Linked DNA regions of Homo sapiens: all the other regions are linked to region 1. The links are contacts of gene promoters, found by promoter capture Hi-C in blood cells and fetal thymus (Javierre and others, 2016). All regions are on one chromosome and are shown on one strand. Each heading gives the region's core, a stretch centred on a gene start or on the middle of the fragment in contact. The rest is flanking DNA. Distances are from core to core; before and after follow the strand shown.

Region 1 (2,916 bases), core at 145-2,644:
CCAGTTTCAGTCTTCTACTTCCAATTTTTGTTAGACATGTCCACATGAAAGGACTCTCATCAGCTTAAATTCAAAATGTAAAAATCAACCCATTTTTCCTTTCCAAAAACTGAGGCATCTTCTCACAGCTCCTCTTTCTGTAAATGCATATTCATTCTACAGGAATTTATTGGGCACCTGCTGTGTAGTGGACACTGTGGCTGATAAGGATCAGCTATAAAAGGTAAGGCCTTTGCCCTCAAGATGCTTCCATTGAGTCCAGTGGGGAAGGCCGTGTGATAAGTGTTCTGATGGAGTTAAATGGTTGTACCTTTTCTTCTCAAGGAAGAGCACCAAATTCCCAAAGGCTAAGGCTTTCTGGGAAGACTAACTTCTAACACAAATTAGTCTTCAAGGCCAAGTAAGAGTTAGCGACATGAAGAAGAAGAGGAAAGAGGTCTCTGTGGCAGTGTAAGCAGTATGGCCAGAGTCCTGGAGCTGTCACAGGCATGGCACATTCTGAGACAGTGCCCATGGGGAGGGATGAGGATGGAGTGGAAGGTCAAGGTCAGGCCACTAAGGGGGAGAACAGGTGGTAGGAAGTGGGGTGGAGGCTGCCTCACTGCTTCACGCTATGCCCTTTGTCTCAAATGCCTTTCCTCTTTCCACTTGACTCATTCAAATACTATTCATTCTTCCTAGCTTTCTGCTTGAAACCTTTTCTTACCTGATCCCAGAAGCAGCTGTTACGAGCAGCGAATCCTTATGGGTCCGCAGCGAACTCAATTCTTAGCTCCTTAGAAGAAAGAATTTGGGGCCGGGTGTGGTGGCTCACGCCTGTAATCCCAGAACTTTGGAAGGTTGAGGCAGGTGGATCACTTGAGGTCAGGCATTCGAGACCAGCCTGAACAACATGGTGAAACCCCGTCTCTACTAAAAATACAAAAAATTAGCCAGGTGTGATGGCGGGCGCCTGTAGTCCCAGCTACTCTGGAGGAGGGGGGAGGCAGGGAAGAATTTGACCGAGGAAAAATAAGGCAGACTGAGAGACTGAGGCAAGTTTTAGAGCAAGAGTGAAAGTTTACTAAAAGGTTTTAGGGCAGGAACGAAAGGAAGTAAAGTACACTTCGAGGAGGGCCAAGCTGGCCACTTGAGGGATCAAGTGGCTGGCTTGACCTTTGCCTTAGGGTTTTATATATTGGCATACCTCTGGGATCTTGCATCCCTTTTCTCCTGATTCTTCCCTTCTGGTGGGCTGTCTGCATGCCCAGTGCCCTACCAGTGCTTGGGAAGGGCTGCATGCGCAGTGTGTTTACGGGAGTTATACGCATGCTCACTTGAGACGTTCTTCTATTACCAATCTAACGTTCCTAGAGGAAGGTCATATACCAGTTAAACTCCCCCATTTTGCCTCATAGTGCGCATGCTTGAGCCCACTTACCTAACACCTGAGATCTTATTGGGACGCTGCTGATAACCAGTTTCAGGTTTTTTCTGTCTGTCGGGAGATTGCCTTTCCCTCGTGCTGGCTGTGACTAATTATTGTTTTAGAGAAATAATGATTGTAACAGTGTAACAACCACCTGACCATCACTTGATGGTCGTCTGACATTCCTGGTTGGGCGTGCAGCCCTCTCCTGGCCTGCTGATGTCTGCCTGACTACTATAACACAACCTCTCTCTCCTCTGAACTTTTCTGGCAATTACTATTCTCACAACATATTTGATATAACGATGATACCAATGTCTTATATCTATAGATTTTATTTTTATTTTTAAAAGCCTTTTGCTGGCCGTGTGCAGTGGCTTATGCCTGTAATCCTAGCACTTTGGGAGGCCGAGGCAGGTGGATCACTTGAGGCCAGGAGTTCAAGACCAGCCTGGCCAATATGGTGAAACCCCATCTCTACTAAAAATACAAAAAAATTAGCTGGGTGTGGTGGCATGCACCTGTAATTCCAGCTACTCAGGAGGCTGAGGCACGAGAATCACTTGAACCTGGGAGGCAGAGGTTGCAGTGAGCTGAGATCCCGTGCCACTGCACTCCAGCCTGGGCAACAGAGTGAGACTCTGTCTTAAAAAAAAAAAAAAATCTTTAGAGCTAATAACTTCTGCCTGTGGCCTACCTCCCTAACTGTATTGAGACCCCCTTCAATGCAGCAGCTTTGCCCCTGACTTCCTCATACTCCTCACAAAGCCTAACATAATGTCTCGAACGATTGGTGCTCAATACATTTATTGACTTAATGTTGATGTGCATTTTACTGCTTTCATTAGTGTTCTGGCTCTGTGGGTAAACAATTTGGTACATGTAGCATAGTGTAAACTACTGGTTAGCATAGTGCAAACTATTTTATAACTCCTCAGAAATGACTTCTAAGTGATACAACTAAGAAATGGCAGCACTAGAAGTGTAGTACATCAGGGCTCAGTTCTATGTACCATCTAGTACCCTCAGCTGAGAGAAAAACAATACTCTTTGCTCTTAAAAACTCTAGGGACCCTTTTGAACTCATCTTTGGTGACATAGCTCCAATTAGTCTGAAATCTAACATAGGATTGCTTGATGGCTTGCCAGACAGTAACTAGCACTCTGGGTCAGGAACTTTGGCCAGAGCCAAGAGTTCAGTCCTGATGAATCAAATTAACAGCTATGACTCAAAAAGAGGAGGGCTGGGAACTGCTCTTTTATTTCCTATAACTCAAGTTACAGAAAATAAACTCGCTTTGTAGCATTTCATCCCTCACCTACTACCCACCCCTGGGACTTTTTCCCTATGAGTCTTTCAGCCCATTCTTAAAACCCAGATCCCTAAAAAACTAGCGTTACTACCTAGATCGCTTCCATTCTTCAGTCTGCAATGTATTGAATGACTGAATTGCTTGTACTGGTTCTTTTTGAACCTGTGTTCTGGGTTATGTTTGCCCTTGCAAGTT
Region 2 (2,916 bases), core at 281-2,780, 500 kb after region 1:
CAGTAAGTTTTACTTATGGAAGTTTAGATATAAAAGCTAGTATTTATCACATTTTACATTTAGATTGCTTCTATTTGGAATTAATATGACAGATGTTTCTTAATAATAAGACATTTCATAGAATGTATATGAACACATAGCGTCCCAATTATTAAAGATTAAATATACAAATTTTGGTTAAGCCACTAAAGATATTACCAACATCATGGTCCCTTGCTCTGAGGTCATGATCTTTCAGAGACCCTGGAAAGAGATGCTGGGCATTTCTTGCACTCATACAAGGTTGTTGAAATGTTATCGACCCAAAGAGCACACCAAGCCTGACTCAAAAGTGAAAGCTTCTGTAACAACGTTATAGATGAGTACCTACCAAATAGCACCATATTTTCTTCAGGCTCCTTCTGAAACCAGTCAGCTTATCACCCTAAATCTCATAACGAATAATAGAGGGAGGGGAAGGCTGGTGATGACTGATTTTTGGGGGGCTCTAAGCATTTTTATGGAACTCAGGGATGCACACTTCTGTCAATGAGGTCACTCCAACCACTTCAAATATCTCATGGTTCCCTGGTTTTAGATTAAAAAAATATTAATAGGGGGAGAAGAGCCATAGGTAGTTACAGTCTCTCAGGGATTCTGCAAATCTGTAGTTAGGACAAAGAAAAAGAGGGCCGGGCACGGTGGCTCACGCCTGTAATCCCAGCACTTTGGGAGGCCGAGGTGGGCGGATCACGAGGTCAAGAGATCGAGACCATCCTGGCTGACATGGTGAAACACTGTCTGTACTAAAAATACAAAAAAATTAGCCGGGTTTGGTGGCAGGTGCCTGTAGTCCCAGCTACTTGGGAGGCTGAGGCAGGAGAATGGCATGAACCCAGGAGGAGGAGCTTGCAGTGAACAGAGATCGCGCCACTGCACTCCAGCCTGGGTGACAGAGCGAGACTCTGTCTCAAAAAAAAAAAAAAAAAAAAAAAAAAGAAAAGAAAAGGAAAAGGGAAAACAGGAATGAAATAGATTTTAAAGTTTTCTATCTGCCAACAGGGTTTTCTCCAATTCCGATTTAACATGAGGCCTGTAATAGGAATGCAATCATCTTTATTTAATAAGTTATTTCTTTACTCTTTATTATTTACTCAGTGTCAAAAAATCTCACAGCATCTTTAGGAAAGTCCTGGCAAAAGCTTACTGGCTGGGGACCATGCAGGAACCCCTGGGACTCATCTCTATTGCTGGAGTTGAGCCAGCCTGAGGAATGGGACTTTTTGTGCTGCGACCTCATCTTAGCAGCACTGTCCGACCATTTATGTTCTTCCCTGGTCACTGCCGTGAAGAGGGCACCCGGAAATGGGAGCTCTGTCCATCGTTCATAATAAATTAGCTTCACAGAGTACCCAAGAGACTGAGGAATTCGAATTTAGAAATTCAAAAGGGTGCATCTCCTTAAACTCTTTAAACCAAATTCTAACGTTACTCTTCACAGACACCCTCTATTCCAAATATCATATATTCTTCCCCATATACCAAGATAATATTCTATTAACAGGTCTTCATGAAGTCCTGTCACCTGTCCTTAAATAAGGAATCGCGACGATAAAGAAAATAAAGTGAACAAATAAGAAGAGAAATATTTTAACAGAGATGTCCTTAGAACTAATTCTCTATGAAAAATGTTTATAGGATTTTCAACTGACAGACACTCTGACATGCAAACCTGGCTTAAAGTGTTGACAACATTGTTTTATAACCCAGCATAGCCCGTTTTTATGGTAGTTGTGTGATGACGCACATTCTCTGACTCTTTCACGTGAGGGAACAAGAATGCCATAAGCCACTTCACTATTTCATTTGTAAATTTCCAATGAATTTTTAAATAAGCTTTTTCACAAACATGATAGTCATTTAACAGAAATAGCATTCTAATTTAAAGGTATGACTTTTAGAAACATGCAGGTCATAAAGAGAAGCTGAGATGCCTAAATTGTGTAATAATAATTGAAACTCAATTTTTTTTTTTTTTTTTTTTGAGACAGAGTCTTGCTTTGTCACCTTGGCTGGAGTGCAGTGGCATGATCTTGGCTCCCTGCAACCTCTGCCTCCCAGGTTCAAGTGATTCTCCTACCTCAGCCTCCTGAGTAGCTGGGACTACAGGCGTGGGCCACCACACCCAGCTAATTTTTGTATTTTTAGTAGAGACGGGGTTTCACTATGTTGGCCAGGCTAGTCTCAAACTCCTGACCTCAGGTGATCGACCCACCTTGGCCTCCCAAAGTGCTGGGAATATAGACGTGAGCCGCCGTGTGTGGTCTGAAACTCAAATTTTTAAACAAGGTGATCCTACGTAATCTGTAAAATAGGCAGTGTGCCTTTTGTAGTTCTCTGCAAGTGACAAAAACCTAGTTTAAGCTCAAAGGGGAAATTATTGGTTCATGAAACCTAAAGGAGGTTTAAACCGGCACAAACACATGATATTCACTGATGTAGCTGGGCCTCAGGAACAAATGTACAAGGAAGTCCCCCAACCAAGACATTTTGTCATCCATTTTTGCTTCTCTGAGTATTGGTTTTATTCTCTGACGTAGAGCACTGACTTTCTCTCCATTAGAGGAAGAGTGCATCGCAGTTTCCCTAATATTGTATCTTGTATCTTCCACCATGGAAATACAAACTTAAAGCTCTCTGAGTTTTAACTGGAAATTCTTGAGGACTTTGGGACCTGGTCCAGTTACCTGTGCCCAAAGGGACATGAAATTATAATTGAGGCAGCTTTGACTAGGTGCCTACTCCAGACCAAACTTGACCAGGAAGGTAGCATCGTATAAGGACAGCACCTTGTTTCAGAAATGATTAAATGTAGAAAAATTAGAAAACTCACATGACTGGAAGCTTGCAATTGTTCAGGGGATGGGGGGCGGGGTG
Region 3 (2,916 bases), core at 284-2,783, 480 kb after region 1:
AACACATGTGGCTAGTGGCTACCATATTAAACAGCACAGATAAAGAACATAGGCAGCTGTAGTCTAATAGCTCACCCCGGAGCTTTTGTATAAATAGCCCACATTTAGAAATACTCCAGGAGGCAGAAAAAGCTGGCAGAATAGAAGCCTATGCCCTTTGTCTCCTCTGCAGGAACACCACATTTTAACAACTATCTGCACACAGAAAAGCACTGTCACAAGAGCCAAAAATCAGGTGAGAAATCATAGTACCTGGTTTTAATATCATATCACCAAAAGAGGCATTAAAGAGAGTTGGAGAGACAGTCTTGAATCACCAACACCACCCCTCCCCCATCCCTGGGCAGCAGCTGTGCAGGGTGGAGAGTCTGTGCACTTGGAGGACTTTACATTGAACTCACTGCTGCCCTGTCATAGAGGAAAACAAAACCATGCTGGGTTCAGCCAGCACCTGATCAAGGATGGGACATTTGGACCAGACCTAGCCAGAGGGGAATTGCCCATCTGGTGGTCAGAACTTGAGTTTCTTGGCAAGCCTTGCCACCGCAGGCCAAAGTGCTCTTGGGTCTTAGGTAAACTTGAAAGACAGTCTAGGACATGAGGCCTGCAATTCCTAAGCAACTCCTAGTGTTGAGCTGGGCTCAGAGAAGAGGACTAGGGTGACCTGGTACCTCACCAGCTGGAACAGCTAAAAGAGTGCTTGTGCCACTCTTTCTTCAACCCTAAGCAGTGCAGCTCACAGCAATGAAAGTGACTCCTTCCTTTTGCTTAAGGGGAGGAAATAAAAGAGTAAACAGGACTTCATCTTGTATCTTGGATACTAGCTCAGCCACAGTAAGATAGAGCACTGGGCAGAGTTATGAGGTATCCCCCCATTCCAGACCCTGGATCATGGACATTTATAGACACACTCTGGGAACCCACTGGAAAAATGGGAACCCCTTGCCTTGAAGGGAAGGACTCAGTCCTGGAAGGATTAATCACCTGCTGACTAAAGAGCCCTTGGGTCCTGAATAACCAGCAGCAACACCCAAGTAGTACACTGTGGGCCTTGGGCTTTGAGAATGTGCTGAGTTCAGGTGTGACGTGGCACATTTCCAGGTGTGACAGCTACAGTGAAAAACTCCTTTAGACTCCTTCCATTTGAGAAAAGCAGAGGGAAAGTAAAAGGGACTTTGTCTTGTACCTTGGGTACCAGCACAGCCACAGTGGGGTAGAGCAACAAGCAGGCTCTTGCAGTCCTCGAGTCCAGGCCTAGGCTCTTGGATAGCATTTTAGGGCCTGCCCAGGGCATGAGGGTAGCCTACTACCCTGAAGGATGAGTCCTGGTCCTCGTAGCATTCACTACAAACTGACTGAAGAGCCCTTGGGCTTTAAGTGAACATCTGCAGTGGTGTGGGAGAATACACCCCTCACCTCTGGGCCTGTGGTGGCAGTGGCCACAGGGAGATGCTCCTCTGCCTGTGGAAAGGGGAAGGAAGAGCAAGAAGGATTTTCTCTTCTGGTTTGAGTGCCAGCTTAGCTGCAGTAAAAAAGAACATCAGGCAAAATCCTAAGGTTTTTTACTCCAATCTCTGGCTCTCAGACAACAGCTCTGGACCTGCCCAGGGCCTTGAGGAACTTGTTGCCTTTAAGGGAAGGGCACAAACCTGGCTGGCTTTACCACCTGCTGATTACAGAGCCCTGGGGCCTTGAGTGAACTTAGGTGGTAGCCAGGCAGTGGTTACAGTGGGCCTTGGGTAACCTCGGTGCTGTGCTGGCTTCAGGTCTGACAAAGTACAGTCCCAGCAGTGGTGGCAACAGGGGTGCTTATATCACCACACCTACGGTTTCAAGTGGCTCAGCACAGAGATAGAGAAAGAGAGAGACTCCATTTGTTTGGGAAAGAGTCAGGGAAGAAAACAAAAGTCTCTGCATGGTAATCCAGATTATTCTTCTGAATTTTATCCAAGGTCACCAATGTGGTACCTCTGTGAGTCTGCAGGAACCATAGTGTTATTGGGGTTGGGGACCAAGTTGCTCTGAGTACCTGGAAAGCCTTGCCAAGAAGACAGACACAAACAAGCCCAGACTGTGAAGACTTCAATAAATACCTAACTGACACTTAAAAACATCCACAAGCATCAAGACCATCCAGGAAAATAGGACCTCACCAAACAAACTAAATAAGCCACCAGGGACAAATTCTGGAGAACCGAAGATATATGGCCTTTCAGAGAGTTCAAAATTTCTATTTTGGAGAAATACAATGAAATTCAAGATGACACAGAGAAGGAATTCAGAATTCTATCAGATAAATTTCACAAAGAGATTAAAATAATTGAAAAGAATCAAGCAGAAATTCTGGAGCTGAAAAATGCAACTGACATACTGAAGAATGCATCAGGTCTCTTAATAGCAGAATTGATCAAGAAGAAGAAAGAATTAGTGAGCTTGAAGGCAGACCATTTGAAAATACACAGTCAGAGGAGACAAAAGAAAAAAAGAATAAAAAAGAATGAAGCATGCCTACTAGGTCTAGAAAATAGCCTCAAAAGGACAAATCTAAGAGTTGTTGGGCTTAAAGAGGAGGTAGAGAAAGAGGAAGGGATAGAAAGTTTATTCAAAGGAATAATATCAAAGAATTTCCCAAACCTAGAGAAAGATATCAACATTCAAGTGCAAGAAGGTTATAAAACACCATTTGACCCAAAGAAGATTACCTCAAGGCATTTAAGAATCAAACTCCCAAAGTCAAGGATAAAGAAAGGATCCTAAAAGCAGCAAGAGAAAAGAATCAACATACAATGGAGCTCCAATACATCTGGCATCAGACTTTTCAGTGAAAACTTTATAGGCCAGGAAAGAGTGACATAATATACTTAAAGCACTAAAGAAAAAAACCTTTTATCCTAGAATAGTATATCTGGTGAAAAT
Region 4 (2,916 bases), core at 171-2,670, 460 kb after region 1:
ATGAGCCACCATGAGTGGCCCAGAATTTCTGTTTGGTTCTTTTCTTATGATCTCTTTGGTTAATTTCTCATTTATATCCTGAACTCTTTTTCTGATTTCTTTGTATTGTTTTTCAGAATTCTCTTGTATATCACTGACCTACTTTAGAATCAATCATTTGAATTCTTTTTCTGGGATTTATTAATTTCTTTTTGATTGGGATCTGTTGCTAAAGAATTATTGTGTTCCTTTGGAAGTGTCATATTTTCTTGCTTTTTGGTTCCTGTGTCCTTATATTGATATCTGCACATTTGGTGTAACAGTTGCTTCTTCCAATTTTTTTGAATTTGCTTTCATGGGGGAGGACTTTTTCCTGAAGATGTATCCATGATGTTGGTTGGGTAACACACTGTCTTTGATTCTTGGTGTGTGCAGTAGTTTAGTCTCTGTATGATTTCTTCAGCTGTAAACAGTATTAGTAGTATCTATAATTTCCTCCATGGCTTAGGGTGCAGTTATTACTGGAGACTGTGGTAAAGTTTTGCTGGGGCCTGGGACAGCAGGTAGGCCAGTCTTTGAGCCCCAGGGGTGGCAGTGGTGGGTTGAATGCACCTGTTCCTGGATCCCAGGGCTGCATATACTGGCACTTATATTAGTGGACCAAGGCAGCCCAATTTTTGGCCTCCATGTGGCTTACTTGGATGCTGGTAGTGGTAGCAGTGGACCAGGCAGGTGGGGGTGGTTCTTTAGCCCTTTGGCAGCCAGGATGGTGTGACAATGACAGTAGCAGTGGTATGATGACCACTGGGTCCCAAGCTGTGTGTGATAGTGTTGTCAGTGGCTGAGATGGGCTGGGCAGACCAGTCTTTGGGCCCACAGGTAGCACATGCAGGCAGGTGCCAGCTATAGTGTTAGTGGCTCAGTGAGTAGGTCCAAACTTGGGGTTTAGTGAGGAGTGTTCTTGTTCCAGTTATGTGGACTGGCGTGGACAACACCCTGGTCCCTGGATTGTGTGCTCTGGCACAGTGTGTTGGGGGATCTAAGCTCAGCCAGATGGGCTTGTCCTCAGGCTCTCTGATTGTGTGTGCAGGCACCAGCCATGGTAGGCTGGGGCAGAGCAATGCCCAGGCTACTGGCAGAATGGTCTGGTATGGACCACAAATGACTGCACTGCTGCCCTGCCACTGGGGAGGGTAGTGCTGCCTTCAGTGGTGAGTAGCGTAGGCCAGCAGGTGGAGAATGCACACACCATTCATGCCAGCAGTGCCTGCACTTCAACACTTGCTGCAGAAGCCAGTGCCTCACTCACATCTCAGTTGTGGGTGTTGTAGCTTGCAGTTGCTTATGCCTAGGCCTTGGGGGCAGCAGCCCATGCTTCACTTGTTCCTCAGATCTAGCGCTGTTGGGCCCCTGGATAGTACACAGCCCACTGGAGGTAGGGCTCTAAAATGACACCTTGCTGGAGCTGCTTATGTCTCAGAGAGTGTGTGGGACCCAATGCAAGCACCCCACCCTGACCCAGGAGCCAGGAGCAATGCCATCATACAATCTCCTGGCAGCTCCATATGTTAGTTTCAGGGCTTACAAGAGTCTAGGGGATTTCCCATGGCTAGGATTGCAAAAGTCCAAAGCAGAAATGTAGACCACTGAGAATCTCTCATTTACCCTTTCTCCACATTGAGGAGTCTCTCTCAGCTTCTAGCCAATTCCAGTTCAGCAGATTGCTTCACTTTCTTCTCCTTTCTTGCTTTAGGTAGTTCCTGTCACTTTTCCATTGAATTCTAGTGTTCTCTCTTGGATGATCTATTCCAAGTGTAATAATCTCACAATTTTGGTTCTTCTTAGTAGAAGAGGTGAGTACAAAATGTCTCTAGTCAGCCATCTTTGAGCCCCTCCAGAAAAAGCACTGTATTCAGCATTTATACATGGCCCCTCAGGGCTCCAAGAGTATGTGTTCATTGAACAAGGTGAAAGCTGCATGACTTTTATGATATAGCCTCAGAAGTTTCACAGTCCCACTTCTGTCATACTTTTTGATCCAAGCAGTCACAAGCCCACCAAGATTCAACAGGTGATGACATACTTGTCACCTTTTGATAAGAATGTCAACAAATCTGTGACCTGTTTGAAAATCACTATGATCATGTTTTTCCTCCCCTTACTTAAACACTTAAAGATCTCATCTACCACCTATATTAGTCAGGATACTCCAGAGAAACAAAGCCAATAGCATGTATATATGTGTATATATATATGTATGAAGAGAGAGAAAGGGATTTATTATAAGGAATTGGGTCATGTGGTTATGGAGACTGGCAAGTCCAATATCTGCAAAGTGGCTGGCAGGTTGGAGATCCAGGAGAACCTGTGTCCAGTTCGAATCCAAAGGCCGGTAGGCTGCTGTAGAACCAGGAAGAGCTGATGTAGATGAAGTCTGATCTACTTCCTGTAGAACCAGGAAGAGCTGGTTGTAGATGAAGTCCAAAGGAAAATCCCCGCTTGCTCAGGGAGGCCATTTTTTGGTTCCACTCAGGACTTCAACTTACTGGATAAAGCCCACCCACAATCTGTTCTAATCAAAGTCCACCAATGTAAATGTTAAGTTCATCCAAAAACCCTCACAGAAATACTCAGAAGAATGTTTGACCAAATATCTGGGTACCCCATGGTCCAGCCCAGTTGACACATAAAATTTACTATCCCACCACCTCTATATCACATTCCTAGTTTTAAAAATACCTTAAAACTCATTTTGTTTTATTGCCATGTATCAATAATTTGCATATTAAGTGACTTTTTTTTTTTATTCCTACCTTTCTGGTTTCATTAGAGGTTGGAGTCATGCTCCCTAAATTTCTACTTGGAGTGACTAGAGAGTCACATATACTTGATCTTATAATTCTCAGTTCCAAAAGAGTTCACAGAAATAAATATACT
Region 5 (2,916 bases), core at 211-2,710, 400 kb after region 1:
TGGAGACATCATTTTTGCAAGTTATTTTTGTATATTCCTTTTCCTTCCTGCTTTAAAAAAAAAAATGCAGTTTTGAGGATTCACTTCACCCTTTTACAGTGTTACTTCAAAAATGTTATATTCTTAACTGCGTATCCCCTTCTCAATCAAATGGAAAGTCTATTAATAATGAAGCCAAGAAACAGTACTGAAATTTTGAAAGTGTGTTCACTTTCTGTCCACTGATGAATTCTTTTATCAGAATTTCTATGAGCATCATACCTGTCCAAATTAAACCTTTCCTTCTTTCTTCAAAGAAAACACAAGAGGATTGAACTACTTCTTTTCCTCCTTTGACATGTATAAAAGATTTTCTCCTGGCAAAAGTGTATGTCAAATTTCAAACCAAAATCAGAAAGACAGAATGTTCATTTCTCTAGCAGGTTATAAAATCTCTGAACTAGAAAGACAAGAATCATTACAAGAAATACATTAATTCTTTTGCAATCGTATCTGAACTGAAACAGAGAAACGAGTAGAAAACTTGGATATTTTCCCCATAAAGAATACTTAAAATTAATAGTTATCCAGGTACAGGTATTGTTGGAATGGGCATTGAAATAGATAAGAGTAGAGAAAACTGTGTTTCAGGAGTACTGTTTTTTTTTTAGTTTAATTTTTAATTTTTAATTGATAAATAGTAATTATACATATTTATGGGCTACAATGTGATGTTTTGATACGTACATACATTTTGTAATTATCAAATTAGGTAATTAGTATATTTATCACCCCAAAGAGTTATCTTTTTTTTTTTTTTCAAGACGGAGTTTCACTCTTGTTGCCCAGGCTGGAGTGTAATGGGTGATCTCGGCTCACTGCAAACTCCACCTCCCGGATTCAAGCAATTCTCCTGCCTCAGCCTCCGAAGTAGCTGGGATTATAGGTGTGTGCCACCATGCCTGGCTAATTTTGTATTTTTAGTAGAGACTTCTCCGTGTTGGTCAGGCTGGTCTCCAATTCCTGACCTCAGGTGATCCACCCACCTCGGCCTCCCAAAGTGTGGGATTAAAGGCGTGAGCCACCATGCCCAGCCTAAGATTTATCATTTCTTTCTAGTGAAATTATTCAAAATCCTATCTTCTAGCTATTTTGAAATACATAATACATTGTTATTACCTATAGTCACTCTACTGTGCAATAGAACACCATATCTTATTCCTCCTATGTAATAGAAACTTTGTACCCATTGACCAACATCCCCTCTTCCATTTTTTTAACCCTCCCTCCTAGCCTCCGGTAACCACTGTTCTACTCTCGGCTTCCATGAGGCTAGCTTTTGTTAGAGTTCACATAATACGAGTGTGAACTCATACCATAAGAGAGAATGTGGTATTTGTCTTTTGGTGCCTAGCTTATTTCACTTAATGGCCTCTAGTTTCATCCATGTTGTCACAAATGATAGAATTTCCTGGTTATTTTATGGATGAATAATCTATTGTGTATATATGCCACATTTCTAAAATTCATTCATCCAGTGATAGACACTTAGGTTGTTTCCATATCTTGGCTATTGTGAATAATGCTGTAATAAACATGGGAGCTCAGACATCACTATGGCATACTAATTTCAATTCTTTTGGATATATACTCATTGGTGGAGTTGCTGGATCCTATGGTAATTAATTTTATTTTTAGTTCTTTAAGGGGCTTTCCTACTGTTTTCCAAAATGGCTGTACTAATTTAATTCTGACCAACAATGTACAAAGTTTCCCATTTCTCCATATTCTTGGCAACACGTGTTATCTTTCATCTTTTTGATGATAGCCAGTCTAACAGGTGTGAGGCATTATTAGCTCATTGTAGTCCTAATTTTCACTTCTCTCATGATTAGGGATGTTGAGCACTTTTTATTTGTCTGTTGGCCATTTGTGTGTCTTATTTTGAAAGCTATCTCTTCAAGTTCTTTGCCTAATTTTTAATAGGATTATTTGTTTTCTTCTTGTTGAGTAGTTTGAGTTCCTTGTATATTTTGGATATGAGCCTCTTACTAGATGTAGGATTTGCAAATACATTCTCCCAATCATGGGTTGTCTCTTCACTCTATTGATCATTCCTTTGCCATGCAGGAGCTTTGTAGCCCAATGTAATCCCATTTGTCTATTTTTGCTTTTATTACCCGTACTTAAAAAAAATTATTTCCATAGGTTATTGGGGAACAGGTATTTTTTGGTTACGTGAGTAAGTTCTTTAGTGATTTGTGAGATTTTGATGCACCCATCACCCGAGCAGTATACACTGCCCCCCATTTGTAGTCTTTTGTCCCTCACCCCCTTCTCACCCTTTCCCCCTGAGTCCCCAGAGTCCATTGTGTCATTCTTATGCCTTTGCATTCTCATGGCTCAGCTCCCACTTATGAGTGAGAACATATGATGTTTTGTTTTCCATTCCTGAGTTACTTCACTTAGAATAATGGTCTCCAATCTCATCCATGTCTCTGTAATGCCATTCATTCATTCCTTTTATGGCTAAGTAGTATTCCATCATATATATACACACGTGTATATATATATACACGTGTATATATATATATATGTGTATATATATATATACGTGTATATATATATACGTGTATATATATATATATATATATATATATATATATATATATATATATACACACACACGTATATATATATATACACCACGGTTTCTTTATCCACTCATTGATTGATAGGAATTTGGGTTGGTTCCATGTTTTTGCAATTGTGAATTGTGCTGTTATAAACATGTGTGTGCAAGTATCTTTCTCATATAATGACTTCTTTTCCTCTGGGTAGATACCCAGTAATGGGATTGCTGGATCAAATGATAGTTCTACTTTTAGTTCTTTAAGGAATCTCTACAGTTTTTTGGTTTTGATTTGGATTTCCCTG

The links. Contacts are between HindIII fragments. The CHiCAGO score rates a contact against its expected background, and 5 or more counts as called.
Region 2: a fragment that was not itself captured here is called in contact with the fragment with the promoter of CERS6-AS1 in region 1 in 1 of 17 cell types (activated CD4 T cells); the score reaches 6.6 in activated CD4 T cells.
Region 3: a fragment that was not itself captured here is called in contact with the fragment with the promoter of CERS6-AS1 in region 1 in 4 of 17 cell types (total CD4 T cells, non-activated CD4 T cells, total CD8 T cells and 1 more); the score reaches 6.8 in total CD4 T cells.
Region 4: a contact is called between a fragment that was not itself captured here and the fragment with the promoter of CERS6-AS1 in region 1, in 14 of 17 cell types (naive CD4 T cells, naive CD8 T cells, total CD4 T cells and 11 more). The highest score is 12.1, in naive CD4 T cells.
Region 5: a fragment that was not itself captured here is called in contact with the fragment with the promoter of CERS6-AS1 in region 1 in 1 of 17 cell types (total CD4 T cells); the score reaches 5.2 in total CD4 T cells.

The regions. Positions count from the first base shown.
Region 1 is chr2:168,784,907-168,787,822 of GRCh38, reverse strand. It overlaps CERS6-AS1 (CERS6 antisense RNA 1), which reads left to right and starts at 1,394. Exons shown (of 3, transcript NR_045787.1): 1 at 1,394-1,466. It also overlaps a transcript of NOSTRIN not described here. The HindIII fragment of the contact is 3,155 bases long and covers 1-2,916 here.
Region 2 is chr2:168,288,928-168,291,843 of GRCh38, reverse strand. No RefSeq gene overlaps it. Among named protein-coding and RNA genes, the nearest start is that of STK39, 43 kb to the right of the region's middle. The HindIII fragment of the contact is 694 bases long and covers 1,184-1,877 here.
Region 3 is chr2:168,308,901-168,311,816 of GRCh38, reverse strand. No RefSeq gene overlaps it. Among named protein-coding and RNA genes, the nearest start is that of STK39, 63 kb to the right of the region's middle. The HindIII fragment of the contact is 3,746 bases long and covers 1-2,916 here.
Region 4 is chr2:168,327,026-168,329,941 of GRCh38, reverse strand. No RefSeq gene overlaps it. Among named protein-coding and RNA genes, the nearest start is that of STK39, 81 kb to the right of the region's middle. The HindIII fragment of the contact is 5,744 bases long and covers 1-2,916 here.
Region 5 is chr2:168,388,508-168,391,423 of GRCh38, reverse strand. All of the region lies in intron 2 of LOC105373734 (a long non-coding RNA gene), which reads left to right. Among named protein-coding and RNA genes, the nearest start is that of CERS6, 66 kb to the left of the region's middle. The HindIII fragment of the contact is 3,412 bases long and covers 1-2,916 here.